5 separate regions of the Homo sapiens genome follow, and regions 1, 2, 3 and 4 are each linked to region 5. Evidence: promoter capture Hi-C in 16 types of primary human blood cells and fetal thymus (Javierre and others, 2016). All regions are on one chromosome and are shown on one strand. Each heading gives the region's core, a stretch centred on a gene start or on the middle of the fragment in contact. The rest is flanking DNA. Distances are from core to core; before and after follow the strand shown. Region 1 overlaps OR3A2 (olfactory receptor family 3 subfamily A member 2). Region 2 overlaps OR3A2 (olfactory receptor family 3 subfamily A member 2). Region 3 has its middle 30 kb from the start of OR3A1. Region 4 overlaps OR3A2 (olfactory receptor family 3 subfamily A member 2). Region 5 holds the start of OR1G1 (olfactory receptor family 1 subfamily G member 1).

Region 1 (2,700 bases), core at 86-2,585, 220 kb before region 5:
AAGAGAACTCCCAGAAGAGAAGGGAATCGGAGAGGGACTTTTGTGTCTAGATGATATTGTCTAGCTGTATGGTGGGGAATCTCTGGGTCAGAGTCTCCAAGGTACAGTAGTGGCCTGGAGTCTTACAACCACAAGGCTATCTTGTTTGTGGTTGGCAGATGCAGGGTGAATATTTACAGGACACGCAAAGCAGGAAGGTCTAAATTGCTGAAAATCTTCTTCTTCAGGGTATTTTTATTTAAAAATAATTAGATGTGTAAAAATTTGAATTTGGTGGAAGCAGGCTTTTTAGCTCACAAGTCTCAGCCAGCAGTGAAGAAATAAACCACCTAAGAGTCAATACACAGACATCATCTTTGGCTCATTTTTGTAACATGCCACCTAAAGAAGGGGCAATGCCACAGAGCCGAATATCCCACTGCATATGCACTGATGTGGCACTACAGCACTCCTGTATATCACTGAGTGGAAAAATCAAAACAAGGTGAATGACACTAAGATGTATTGCAAGCCATGGATTAGAATGAGAAAAACTTCCTAGACAAAGTAGAATCACAGACCCCTCCTTCTGCTTCTTTGATGACATAGGTTGTCCATGGTGATGGGACAGCATTTCAAGTGTTGGTTGGCATGAATCTAGGTTACTTGAACAAATAATGAGGCAAAGGGGGTGGGGGAGATGGAGTTATCTTCTGCCAAAGCATGTGGGCTACGTCAGGGAGGGGTGGAGGCTGGATGAAAACTAGACTACTGTTAAAAATGGGAGTAGGTTGATATGACACTAAGCAAGCTTTCATTGAATGAACACTCCTGTTCAATACAGTGCTGACAACTCCTGGGTGTACTCCCTCCAAACTTGTTCTTTTCCCCACTTCCCACCCAGAACTACTGAATTACTGAATTTGTGGCTTAGTTTTCTTCATGAAATGCTTTTTAAAGGTGGAAAGAAGTCATGGTTTCTAGTTTCTTTCTGTTTTCTAAAATGGATGCATGGCAGTAAGTGAAAGCAAGACGCAGCACATTAAAATCTCAGCATTCTCCAAAATGAGATATTGGATGGGGCATACTGAGTTTATGTTGGCCAGTGAGTCAATTTCTTATTGTGTTTGCATTAGAATTTCATATAAGTAGGTTCATTTCAAGATGGCTGAATAGGAACAGCTCTGGTCTACAGCTTCCAGCATGATCGACACAGAAGATGGGTGATTTCTGCTTTTCCAACTGAGGTACCTGGTTCATCTCATTGGAACTGGTTGGACAGTGGGAGCAGCCCACAGAGGGTGAGCCGAAGCAGGGCAGGGCATCGCCTCACCTGGGAAGTGCAAGGGGTCAGGGGATTTCCCTTTCCTAGACAAGGGAAGCCATGACAGACTGTACCGGGAAAATCGGGACACTGCAACCTAGATACTGCACTTTTCCAGAGGTCTTAGCAAATGGCACACCAGGAGATTATATCCCGTGCCTGGCTCAGTGAGTCCCATGCCCACGGAGCCTTGCTCACTGCTAGCGCAGCAGTCCAAGATCGAACTGCAAGGCGGCAAGCCTGGCTGGAGGAGGGGCGTCCACCATTGCTGAGGCTAGAGTAGGTAAACACAGCGGCCAGGAAGCCAACGAGGCCCGCCTGCCTCTGTGCACTCCACCTCTGGGGGCAGGGCATAGCTGAACAAAAGGCAGCAGAAACTTCTGCAGACTTAAACGTCCCTGTCTGACAGCTCTGAAGAGAGCAGTGGTTCTCCCATCATGGTGTTTGAGCTCTGAGAATGGACAGACTGCCTCGTCAAGTGGGTCCCTGACCCCCAGGTAGCCTAACTTGGAGACACCTCCCAGTAGGGCTGACTGACACCTCATACAGCCAGGTGGCCCTCTGAGACGAAGCTTCCAGAGGAAGGATCGGGCAGCAATATTTGCTGTTCTGCAATATTTGCCCTTCTGCAGCCTCCACTGGTGACACCCAGGCAAACGGTCTGGAGTGGACTTCCGGCAAACTCTAACAGACCTGCAGCTGAGGGACCTGACAGAAGGAAAACTAACAACAGAAAGGAATAGCATCAACATCAACAAAAAGGACATCCACACCAAAACCCCATCTGTAGGTCACCATCATCAAAGACCAGAGGTAGATAAAACCACAAAGATGGGGAGAAACCAGAGGAGAAAAGCTGAAAATTCTAAAAACCAGAGCTCCTCTTCTCCTCCAAAGGATTGCAGCTCCTCGCCAGCAACAGAACAAAGCTGGACAGAGAATGACTTTGACGAGTTGACAGAAGTAGGCTTCAGAAAGTCGGTAATAACAAACTTCTCTGAGCTAAAGGAGGGTGTTTGAACCCATTGCAAGGAAGCTAAAAACCTTGAAAAAAGATTAGACAAATGGCTAACTAGAATAAACAGTGTAGAGAAGACTTTAAATGACCTGATGGAGCTGAAAACCGTGACACAAGAACTACGTGACGCATGCACAAGCTTCAGTAGCCGATTTGATCAAGTGGAAGAAAGAGTATTAGTGATTGAAGATCAAATTAATGAAATAAAGCAAGAAGAGAAGTTTAGAGAAAAAAGAGTAAAAAGAAACGAACAAAGCCTTCAAGAAATATGGGACTATGTGAAAAGACAAAATCTACATTTGATTGGTGTACCTGAAAGTGATGTGGAAAATGGAACGAAGCTGGAAAACACTCTTCAAGATATTATCCAGGAGAACTT
Region 2 (2,700 bases), core at 91-2,590, 180 kb before region 5:
AATACTCAGTGATCCACCTCAACCTCTGGCTGAGGGATAGATATTTAAGTCTCTCACATGGAGGCTAACTCATCCAGGGAAGGGGTGGAGTTGGAGACCACTAGGGGGCAAAAGGCATGAGCAGAGGAAGATATTTCCCAATGATTAAATGTGGAGAATGCCGTCCTCAGGTCTCCAGAGGGTCAATTACCATCTAATAGTATGGCCTTTTCTGCATGGACATGCTCTTACCATTACCTCAAACTCAGTCTCTCCAAATCAGAACCGTCCTTCTTCAATCTCAATCTGCTTTGGACTAAGTATTTTGGTAGCAGCATTGCCATCCTCCCCGTGAGTAGCGCTTGAAAGCTTAGTCATTACTGATTCTTCCCTCTCTCTAACCCTGCACATTGAAGCACCCAAATCCCACTGGATCTTTTTGGGTGGAGTGAGAAGCTGTTTCAGAGCCCAGAGGGTGAACTTCATTTGTATGGAGACCAAGCTGTGAGAGTACAGTGAGGAGTCTTGAGATGAGACTCACCCGGCCAAAGAGATGGGCAAAGAGGAGGAGGGACAGTCCCGCCGGCCCAGCAGCCTCTGCAGAGGGGATGGCTTATAAAGGACAGACAGACAAAGGGACAAGCAACTCCGCTGACATCATTTTCACACTGGGATTTTTCTCCTCCTCATTGTTCCCCTGGAGGCCTCAGAAATTAGCACCTTCCAGGGGGAGCCAGAACCAGGTAAAGACACCTGCCTTTGCCAAAGACATAATGACCTCAAATATTTTTAAAATGTTATGGACTTGTCAAAATGTTTCCAAGTACAGCCTTCTTCAATATGGCAAAATTCATTCATTTATTTAACAAAAATATTTTTGAGCACTGGTGAAACGGCACTCTTGTAATCAACATTTTATAGAGTTAAAATGAACATCTCAAAGACTTAAAATCCTGAAAGTCACCTTGTGTTGGGGACGGTGTTGAGATTTTGGGTTTCTGATTTAATCCAGCCCATCATCTTGGGTGGGGACAGGAGAGGAGAGGAGCAGTGACTTGTGACTTTCTCACCTGGCCTGCAGCATGGGGCTGGGAGGAGGCCAGAGCCTAGGTCAGGATTTCCTCCTGTTTCATCCCTGGATCAGTGTTCTTGCCATCATCTCACAAGGTCACCTCCCATCACAGCTCACGTGAGCCATCCTCAAGCCCGGCTTCTCTTCTAGTCTCAGTCAAGCGCTTTGCCTTTTTCTGGGCTCCCACAGTGTAATCTAGAACCTGTAGCATCCTGGCTCAAAATGTTTTCTAGTCTCATGCCTCCAACACCACAAAGGAAGATAAAGGGTTAGAGGACTTTTAGAACAGGACCATCTACTTTCACTAACATCTAATGGTGGCTTCAGACATCAACTGCAATTTTAATTCCTTGTTCATTAATTAAGCATTCTCACTGACTCTCATTAACAGGTTTGGAAGAAGCTCTTTGCAGGATCACTTGAGGAAACTCATAGTGGCTTAAGCCTGTCATGGGCCAAGGAGGAGTTGTCAGAGAATTAGGATGGATTGGGATTTCTGTTGACAGCTGTCCTTGTAAGAGGCTAAGTTGCAGAGCTCAAATAGAACCCATTATTTCTGCTTTCTCCTGACATACCGGAGGCTGTGTCGTCTCCTTTTCTGACACAATGTTAAGGAAGGGAACTTCCTCCTTGAAGACTCATTGCAGGTCTCCTCCTTTCCAGAAACTGCCTATGAGTCCCTGGGGCCAGGCTAGGAGGCCTTCCTCTGTCTTCCCATAGCAATCCAAAGGCAGTACATGCAGGCGATCCTCAGTTTTTATCTCCCTCCCAGACACTAAGTTGTTGACCCTAATGCCTGTGTGTTGGATATTTCTACCTGAACATCCCACAGGAACCCAAGATGTACAAAACCTTTTGTACAAAATGCGCACACACACAAGCACGCGTGCGTGTGTAAATCCAGTTGAACCACATGCCTTGTTGTGGAAAAACTTGGAAGTATAAGAGTGACACTCACTTATGTTTGACTCTATAAACCCAATTTTTGTTCTTAGTCTTTCTCTTACACTAACAATGTCTTTTGAAGTTATTAGTGGTTTTTGTTTTCTATTTGATTTTAAGTGGTTCTTAGTCTTTCTCTTACACTAACAATGTCTTTTGAAGATATTAGTGGTTTTTGTTTTCTATTTGATTTTAAGTGGAGAAAATAAAAGGGGTTACGGTTTTTTTTTTTTTTTTGAAGAGTAGTAGAGCACAGTGATCCCCTGCACTCTCCCTATTCCACATGGAGAGGGGCTAAGGTTGAGCGTCACTAGACTACACACACTATGGCAAGCTTTTCAGTAGAAAGGGACCCCACCCCCCACAAACACTCTATATATTTGTAGGAATTGGAAGGGGGAGTGGGAGCATCTAGGTAACTGCATTACATCTGGTGCCTCCTGGATGAGGAAGTAACCTCATCAAAATGGGGGTGGCTGGATGCGGTGGCTTGTGCCTCTAATCCCAACAGTTTGGGAGGCTGGAGTGGGGGGATTGCTTGAGGCCAGGCGTTCTAGATCAGGGGCAACATAATGAAACCCTGTCTCTACAAAAAAAATTAGCTGACTGTGGTGGCACAAACATGTAGTCCCAGCTACTTGGGAGGCTAAGGTAGGAGGATTGCTTGAGGCCAGGAGTTTGAGGCTGCGTTGAGCTATGATGGCGCC
Region 3 (2,700 bases), core at 193-2,692, 140 kb before region 5:
TTGAAATGGGAGTTTTAGCGTGCTATACATTCTAGGAGTAAGGCATAATCGGAAATAGGCCAAGCCTCGCAAAGAATGAAACTCAGCTTTAAGCAACTAACTCGATCATGGGTTGGATAAAAGGGATCTACTCCTATCCTTTCTGCCTGCCAGACTCAAAAATAAGTCATTTCTGGAAGAAGAAGCTATCATCCAGAGCAGTGCTATCCAATAGAAATTTCATATGAACCACATACATAATTTAAATTTTTCAAGAGCCACTTTAATAAAAGTAAAAAGAAACAGGTGAAATTAATGATGTATTTTATTTAATTCAATAATCTAAAATATTACCACTTCAACATGTTAATATTTAAAATTTTTCATCTGTCATGGTTGTAGTGAAAAAAGAAAAATATTTTAAAAATAAAAAATTATAAGTGACAGATTTTACATTTTTATATTTCATAGTCTTTGAAATCTGGTATGTGTTTTTTTTGTTTGTTTGTTTGTTTTGTTTTGTTTTTTTAGACAGAGTCTTGCTCTGTTGCCAGGCTGGAGTGCAGTGGCGTGATCTCGGTTCACCACAACCTCCGCCTCCCAGGTTCAAGCAATTCTCCTGCCTCAGCCTCCCAAGTAGCTGGGACTACAGGTGCATGCCAGCATGCCCGGCTAATTTTTGTATTTTTAGTAGGTACAGGGTTTCACTATGTTGGCCAGGATGATCTCGATCTCTTTACCTCATGATCCACCCGCCTCACCCTCCCAAAATGCTGGGATTACAGGAGTGAGCCACCGTGCCTGGCCTGGTACGTGTTTTTTAAACTTATAGCACATCTCAATTAGGATGCCAAATTTGCATCAGAAATACTGGGTCCGGGTTCTCTCATGAGGCTGCCTTAGCGGTATCAGCCAGTGGTGCAGCTGTCTCAAGGCTTGACCAGGGAGGGATAAGCTTCCATGCTCATTCACGTGATCCCTGGTAAGTTTCCACATTTTGCTGGTTGTTGGACTGGAGGCCTCAGTGCCTCACTGTCTGTTGGCTGGAGGCCGCCTTCAGTTCCTTGCTACTAAGGCCTCTCAAAACACGTCTGCTTCCTTCCACAGAGCAATCGAGAAGAGAGCCAGAAAGAGAGGAGATGGAAATCATAGTCTTTTATAACTTAATCTCAGAAGTCATTAGTTTTACTGTATTCTCTTTGTTAGAAGCAAGTCCCTAGATTTCACCCACACCCAAGAGAGGGGACTATATACAGCTATGAATACCATGAGGCAGCAATCACTGGGAGACATTTTAGAGGCTGCCTGCCCCACAACCCAAATGTCCATCTGTAGGTGAATGGACACTGATAAGTTTTGGCTCTGTGTCCCTACCCAAATATCATGCTGAATTGTACTCCCCACGGGTTGGAGTGAAGGAAGAAAATGACAAACACAAAATTCAGGGTCATGGTTACTTCTGAAGGAAAGACATACATAGAGATTCCATAGTACTGGAAATTGAACAATACACAACCAAAAATAAAATGCACAAGAGTGATTAACAAAAAATGCAAATTGTTAACAAATACCAGGAAAAAGATAAACCTTATTACGTCAGAGCTATTCAAATGAAAATAATAATGAGAGACAACTATTCCCATAGGATAAAGAAGAATGTATTAAAACAATGGCAATATAGTGTTAGGGAAATGAAGTTAGCGAAAGCAGTAAGAGTGGAGGTGCTTCTCCTGAAGCTGAGAATCTGGAATCTGGGAAGCAAAACCAGAGGCAGGTATTAAATTATTAAATGCTCACATCTATAATCCCGGTGTATCCGGAGTTGGTTCCTTCCAGTGGGTTCATGGTCTTGCTAACTTCGAGAATGGAGCTGTGGACCTTCACGGTGTGTTACAGCTCTTAAAGATGGCATGGACCCAAAGAGTGAGTAGCAGCAAGAAATGTTGTGAAGAGCAAAAGAACAAAGCTTCCATAGCATGCAAGGAGACCAGAGTGGGTTGCCGCTGCTGGCTGAGGGGTGGCCAGCTTTTATTCTGTTATTTGTCCCCGCCCATGTTCCGTTTCTGTCCTATCAGAATGCCCTTTTTTTTCAATCCTCCCTGTTATTGGCTACTTTTAGGATCCTGCTGATTGGTGCATTTTACAGAGTGCTGATTGGTGCATTTTACCATCCCCTTGCTAGCTACAGAGCACTGATTGGTACATATTACAATCCTAGCTACAGAGTGCTGATTGGTGCATTTTACAATCCTCTTGCTAGAAAGAAAAGTTCTCCAAGTCCCACTCTACCCAGGAAGTCCAGGGACTTCATCTCTCACCACACTTTGGGAGGCCGAGGCAGGTGGATCACCTGAGGTCAGGAGTTCGAGACCAGCCTAGTCAACATGGTGAAACCCTGTCTCTACTAAAAGTACAAAAATTATGGCCGGGCCCAGTGGCTCACTCCTGTAATCATAGCACTTTGGGAGGCCAAGGCGGGCAGATCATGAGGTCAGGAGATCTAGACTGTCCTGGCCAACATGGAGAAACCCCGTCTCCACTAAAATACAAAAAAATTAGCCAGGCGTTGTGGTGGGCGCCTGTAGTCCCAGCTACTTGGGAGGCTGAGGCAGGAGAATTGCTTGAACCCGGGAGGTGGAGGTTGCAGTGAGCTGAGATCGTGCCACTGCACTCCAGCCTGGGTGACAGAGCCAGACTCTGTCTCAAAAAAAAAAAAAAAGA
Region 4 (2,700 bases), core at 62-2,561, 230 kb before region 5:
TCAATAAAATACTGGCAAACCGAATCCAGCAGCACATCAAAAAGCGTATCCACCTCGATCAACTGGACTTCATCCCTGGGATGCAAGGCTGGTTCAACATACACAAATCAATAAATGTAATCCAGCATATAAACAGAACAAAAAACAAAAACCACATGATTATCTCAATAGATGCAGAAAAGGTCTTTGACAAAATTCAACAACCTTTCATGCTAAAAACTCTCAATAAATTAGGTATTGATGGGACGTATCTCAAAATAATAAGAGCTATCTATGACAAACCCACAGCCAATATCATACTGAATGGGCAAAAATCTGGAAGCATTCTCTTTGAAAACTGGCACAAGACAGGGATGCCCTCTCTCACCACTCCTATTCAACATAGTGTTGGAAGTTCTGGCCAGGGCAATCAGGTAAGAGAAAGAAATAAAGCACATTCAGTTAGGAAAAGAGGAAGTCAAATTGTCCCTGTTTGCAGATGACATGATTGTATATCTAGAAAACCCCATCATGTCAGCCCAAAATCTCCTTAAGCTGATAAGCAACTTCAGCAAAGTCTCAGGATACAAAATCAATGTACAAAAATCACAAGCATTCTTATACACCAACAACAGACAAACAGCCAAATCATGAGTGAACTCCCATTCACAATTGCTTCAAAGAGAATAAAATACCTAGGAATCCAACTTACAAAGGATGTGAAGGACCTCTTCAAGGAGAACTACAAACCACTGCTTAACGAAATAAAAGAGGACACAAACAAATGGAAGAACATTCCATGCTCATGGGTAGGAAGAATCAATATCGTGAAAATGGCCATACTGCCCAAGGTAATTTATAGATTCAATGCCATCCCCATCAAGCTACCAATGACTTTCTTCACAGAATTGGGAAAAACTACTTTAAAGTTCATATGGAGCCAAAAAGGAGCCCAGATCGCCAAGTTAATCCTAACCCAAAAGAACAAAGCTGGAGGCATCACGCTATCTGACTTCAAACTATACTACAAGGTTACAGTAACCAAAACAGCATGGTACTAGTACCAAAACAGAGATATAGACCAATGGAACAGAACAGAGCCCTCAGAAACAATACCACACATCTACAACTATCTGATCTTTGACAAACCTGAGAAAAACAAGCAATGGGGAAAGGATTCCCTATTTAACAAATGGTGCTGGGAAAACTGGCTAGCCATATGTAGAAAGCTGAAACTGGATCCCTTCTTTACACCTTATACGAAAATTAATTCAAGATGGATTAAAGATTTAAATGTTAGACCTAAAACCATAAAAACCCTAGAAGAAAACCTATGCAATACCATTCAGGACATAGGCATGGGCATGGACTTCATGTCTAAAACACCAAAAGCAATGGCAACAAAAGCCAAAATTGACAACTGGGATCTAATTAAACTAAAGAGCTTCTGCACAGCCAAAGAAACTACCATCAGGGTGAACAGGCAACCTACAGAATAGGAGAAAATTTTTGCAATCTACTCATCTGACAATGGGCTAATATCCAGAATCCACAAAGAACTCAAACAAATTTACAAGAAAAAAACAACCCCATCAAAAAGTGGGCGAAGGATATGAACAGACACTTCGCAAAAGAAGACATTTATGCAGCCAACAGACACATGAAAAAATGTTCATCATCACTGGCCATCAGAGAAATGCAAATTAAAACCACAATGAGATATCATGTCACACCAGTTAGAATGGCAATCATTAAAAAGTCAGGAAACAACAGGTGCTGGAGAGGATGTGGAGAAATAGGAACACTTTTACACTGTTGGTGGGACTGTAAACTAGTTCAACCATTGTGGAAGACAGTGTGGCAATTCCTCAGGGATCTAAAACTAGAAATACCATTTGATCCAGCCATCCCATTACTGGGTATATACCTGAAGGAATATAAATCATGCTGCTATAAAGACACATGCACACATATGTTTATTGCGGCACTACTCACAATAGCAAAGACTTTGAACCAACCCAAATGTCCAACAATGATAGACTGGATTAAGAAAATGTGGCACATACACACCATGGAATACTATGCAGCCATAAAAAAGGATGAGTTCATGTCCTTTGTAGGGACATGGATGAAGCTGGAAACCATCATTCTCAGCAAACTAGAGAGAAAGGGAAGGTTACCTACAAAGGGAACCCCATTAGGCTAACAGCAGACCTCTCAGCTAAAACCCTACAAGCCAGAAGAGATTGGGGACCTATAATCAACATTCTTAGAGAAAAATAATCTTCAACCAAGAATTTCATATCCAGCCAAACTAAGTTTCCTAAGTGAGGGAGAAATATGTTCCTTTTCAGATAAGCAAATATTGAGGGAATTCATCACCACCAGATCTGCCTTACAAGAGATCTTGAAATGAGCACTAAATATAGAAAGGAAAGACTACTGCCAGCTAATACAAAAACATACTTAAACACACAGACCAGTGTCACTGTAAAACAACCACACAAAGAAGCCAAGATAATAACCAGCTAACAGCACAATGACAGGATCAAATCCATACATATCAATACTGACCTTGAAGGTGAATGGGCTAAATGCCCCACTTCAAAGGCACAGAGTGGCAAGCTGGATAAAGCAAGATCCAGTAGTATTCTGCCTTCATGAGACCCATCTCACACAAAACAACACTCATAGGTTTGAAATAAAAGGATGGAGGAAAAT
Region 5 (2,700 bases), core at 29-2,528:
GCCTCAAGGCTAATGCTAGATTTCAAAGCTGAGCCAATTAGGCACCATCTCTGCCTACTCCCAGTGATGCTCACAGCAGAATGAGGGACACTCATATAAACAGACACTCAGAATCCAAGGTGACACGTGCTGTGATGGGGGAGGCACTGCATTAGGAAGGTCACGAACCTGAGTTTCTGGTGAGAGGATGAGTTGGGAAAGACTTCCCAGAAGAGGTGACATCTAAGGTGAGACCTGAAGCTTAGCTCGTCTGATAAATGGGATGGGAAAAACTATTTCAGCCTGAGAAAGCCTAAAGGTGAGGGAGTATCTGGGCCTTTAAAATAATTGAAACTATGATTAGTGCATAAAGTGTGGAGTGGAGGAGGGAGTTTCATGAGGAACTGGGGATGTCTGTAATAAATGACGGTAAGATCCAGGACATTCAGCCGTGTTCAGTTTAGAGTTTATCCTGGGAGTAATGAGGAGTGTATGAAGGATTTTTCAAGCAGAAAGACAAGAGTCGAATTTGATTTTTAGCAAGCCTATTCTCTGTGTATTTAGAACAGCAGGTGGCAGGTGGGCATACCTGGGGGCATGGAGATCAACTGCCCAAATCCAAGTGAGAAATCACAGTGCCCTGAATGACATGAGCTGCAGCTGGGACTGATGGTGACCAGTAAACAGAGAGACGTCAGTAAATTGTAGCCATATTGAGAAGGTAAAATTGCCAGGCTTTGGTGGTGGTTGGATGTAGGCAGGGAGGGAGAAACGTGGGTCAATAATGACGCTCAGGTTTCTGGCCAGACCCGCTGTGTAGATAACAGTGATAATGATTTCCATGTTAGCCATGCTTTTCCCAATTCCAAAACCCCTTTCCAGGAGCTGTCTTTTTAATTATTGGTACAATGGGCTCATTTGACCTGTAAAATCTTGGGTTGTATAAATGTCATAGTTTCTACATGAACACTACCAGAGCAAAGCCAGCAAGCCCCTCCAGCCCAGCCCCAAAATACACATATTGGCTTAATGCTTATGGAATAAATTTAAAAGCCTCTCATTGCATTACAAACAAATCTGTGGTTTCTCATAGCACCAAGCACAGGAATTTGCAAATATTTAGTCGAACCCTATGAAATGGCCATTTTTGCAGGTCCCAAAGAGTCAAATAGTGGAGATTTCCTATGATCCAACCTCACACTAGAAGATCAACACTGGAATATTGCATAATTTTCAGAGTTCACAATCCAGGGCTTACCAACGTCACCCAATTAACCCAACTTTCTTCCTACAGACAAATGGAGGGGAAAAATCTGACCAGCATCTCAGAATGTTTCCTCCTGGGGTTCTCTGAGCAGCTGGAGGAGCAGAAGCCCCTCTTTGGGTCCTTCCTGTTCATGTACTTGGTCACGGTGGCAGGCAACCTCCTCATCATTCTAGTCATCATTACTGACACTCAACTCCATACCCCCATGTACTTCTTTCTAGCCAACCTCTCCCTTGCAGATGCCTGCTTTGTGTCCACCACAGTCCCTAAGATGCTGGCAAACATACAGATCCAGAGTCAGGCCATCTCCTACTCAGGGTGTCTACTACAGTTGTATTTTTTCATGTTATTTGTGATGCTGGAGGCATTCCTCTTGGCGGTCATGGCCTATGACTGCTACGTGGCCATATGCCACCCACTTCATTACATTCTGATCATGAGCCCTGGGCTCTGCATCTTCCTCGTGTCTGCATCCTGGATCATGAATGCCCTCCACTCCCTTCTACACACACTTCTGATGAACAGCCTGTCCTTCTGCGCAAACCATGAGATCCCACACTTCTTCTGTGACATCAATCCCCTCCTGAGTCTGTCCTGCACAGACCCCTTCACCAATGAGCTGGTGATCTTCATCACTGGGGGTCTCACAGGACTCATTTGTGTGCTTTGCCTGATTATCTCTTACACGAACGTTTTCTCGACCATCCTGAAGATCCCATCAGCTCAGGGGAAGCGGAAAGCCTTTTCCACCTGCAGCTCTCATCTCTCCGTGGTCTCTCTCTTCTTTGGGACTTCTTTTTGTGTTGATTTCAGTTCTCCCTCAACCCACTCGGCCCAGAAGGACACAGTTGCATCAGTGATGTACACAGTGGTAACTCCAATGTTGAATCCCTTTATCTACAGTTTGAGGAACCAAGAAATAAAGTCTTCCCTGAGAAAGTTAATCTGGGTTCGGAAAATTCATTCCCCTTAGTGGTAGTGACTTGACATCCAATATGGGGGTCTCCATGCACCTGCGTTCACCACAGTAAGCAGTGAAGAATGAAAGATGGAGAGAATCTAGAGACCTCTGTTCCAGTACCTACGATCTGAACCTGAAATATTCATGTCTAAGCTACAGGACTGCATCATAACCCATCATCAGGCCAATGTCACAGGTGAAGTTCTTACAATTATGTTCTAAAACCACAGCCATCCAGATGTATAATATAATGTCATGCCTTATTATATTTACTATAGTTAATAATATTGATGATTTAATAATGTTATTAGTTAATGCTTTTTAAACAACATGGGACAGCTCATGACTGAAATAAGGGAATATCTGGCTGGGCTGTTGTATAGGGCCAAGAATAAAATTCAGGGAAGGACGACCTTCCCCCAGCATCACTGTGATCCTGATCACTCGGATCCCCACCCACAGTGTTTCTGCCACAGGCACTGCCCGTATCTGT

What was found. Contacts are between HindIII fragments. The CHiCAGO score rates a contact against its expected background, and 5 or more counts as called.
Region 1: a fragment that was not itself captured here is called in contact with the fragment with the promoter of OR1G1 in region 5 in 4 of 17 cell types (endothelial precursors, M1 macrophages, M2 macrophages and 1 more); the score reaches 7.7 in endothelial precursors.
Region 2: a contact is called between a fragment that was not itself captured here and the fragment with the promoter of OR1G1 in region 5, in 5 of 17 cell types (M1 macrophages, M2 macrophages, endothelial precursors and 2 more). The highest score is 8.0, in M1 macrophages.
Region 3: a contact is called between a fragment that was not itself captured here and the fragment with the promoter of OR1G1 in region 5, in 3 of 17 cell types (endothelial precursors, M2 macrophages and M1 macrophages). The highest score is 9.5, in endothelial precursors.
Region 4: a contact is called between a fragment that was not itself captured here and the fragment with the promoter of OR1G1 in region 5, in 5 of 17 cell types (M2 macrophages, M1 macrophages, M0 macrophages and 2 more). The highest score is 8.9, in M2 macrophages.

The regions. Positions count from the first base shown.
Region 1 is chr17:3,341,828-3,344,527 of GRCh38, reverse strand. All of the region lies in intron 1 of OR3A2 (olfactory receptor family 3 subfamily A member 2), which reads left to right. Among named protein-coding and RNA genes, the nearest start is that of OR1R1, 43 kb to the left of the region's middle. The HindIII fragment of the contact is 1,085 bases long and covers 793-1,877 here.
Region 2 is chr17:3,306,210-3,308,909 of GRCh38, reverse strand. The region is part of intron 2 of OR3A2 (olfactory receptor family 3 subfamily A member 2); the gene reads left to right. Among named protein-coding and RNA genes, the nearest start is that of OR3A1, 9.2 kb to the right of the region's middle. The HindIII fragment of the contact is 1,979 bases long and covers 351-2,329 here.
Region 3 is chr17:3,266,859-3,269,558 of GRCh38, reverse strand. No RefSeq gene overlaps it. Among named protein-coding and RNA genes, the nearest start is that of OR3A1, 30 kb to the left of the region's middle. The HindIII fragment of the contact is 1,011 bases long and covers 937-1,947 here.
Region 4 is chr17:3,359,132-3,361,831 of GRCh38, reverse strand. All of the region lies in intron 1 of OR3A2 (olfactory receptor family 3 subfamily A member 2), which reads left to right. Among named protein-coding and RNA genes, the nearest start is that of OR1R1, 25 kb to the left of the region's middle. The HindIII fragment of the contact is 7,072 bases long and covers 1-2,700 here.
Region 5 is chr17:3,126,129-3,128,828 of GRCh38, reverse strand. It overlaps OR1G1 (olfactory receptor family 1 subfamily G member 1), which reads left to right and starts at 1,278. Exons shown (of 1, transcript NM_003555.1): 1 at 1,278-2,219. The coding sequence starts at 1,278. The coding sequence ends at 2,219. The HindIII fragment of the contact is 3,090 bases long and covers 243-2,700 here.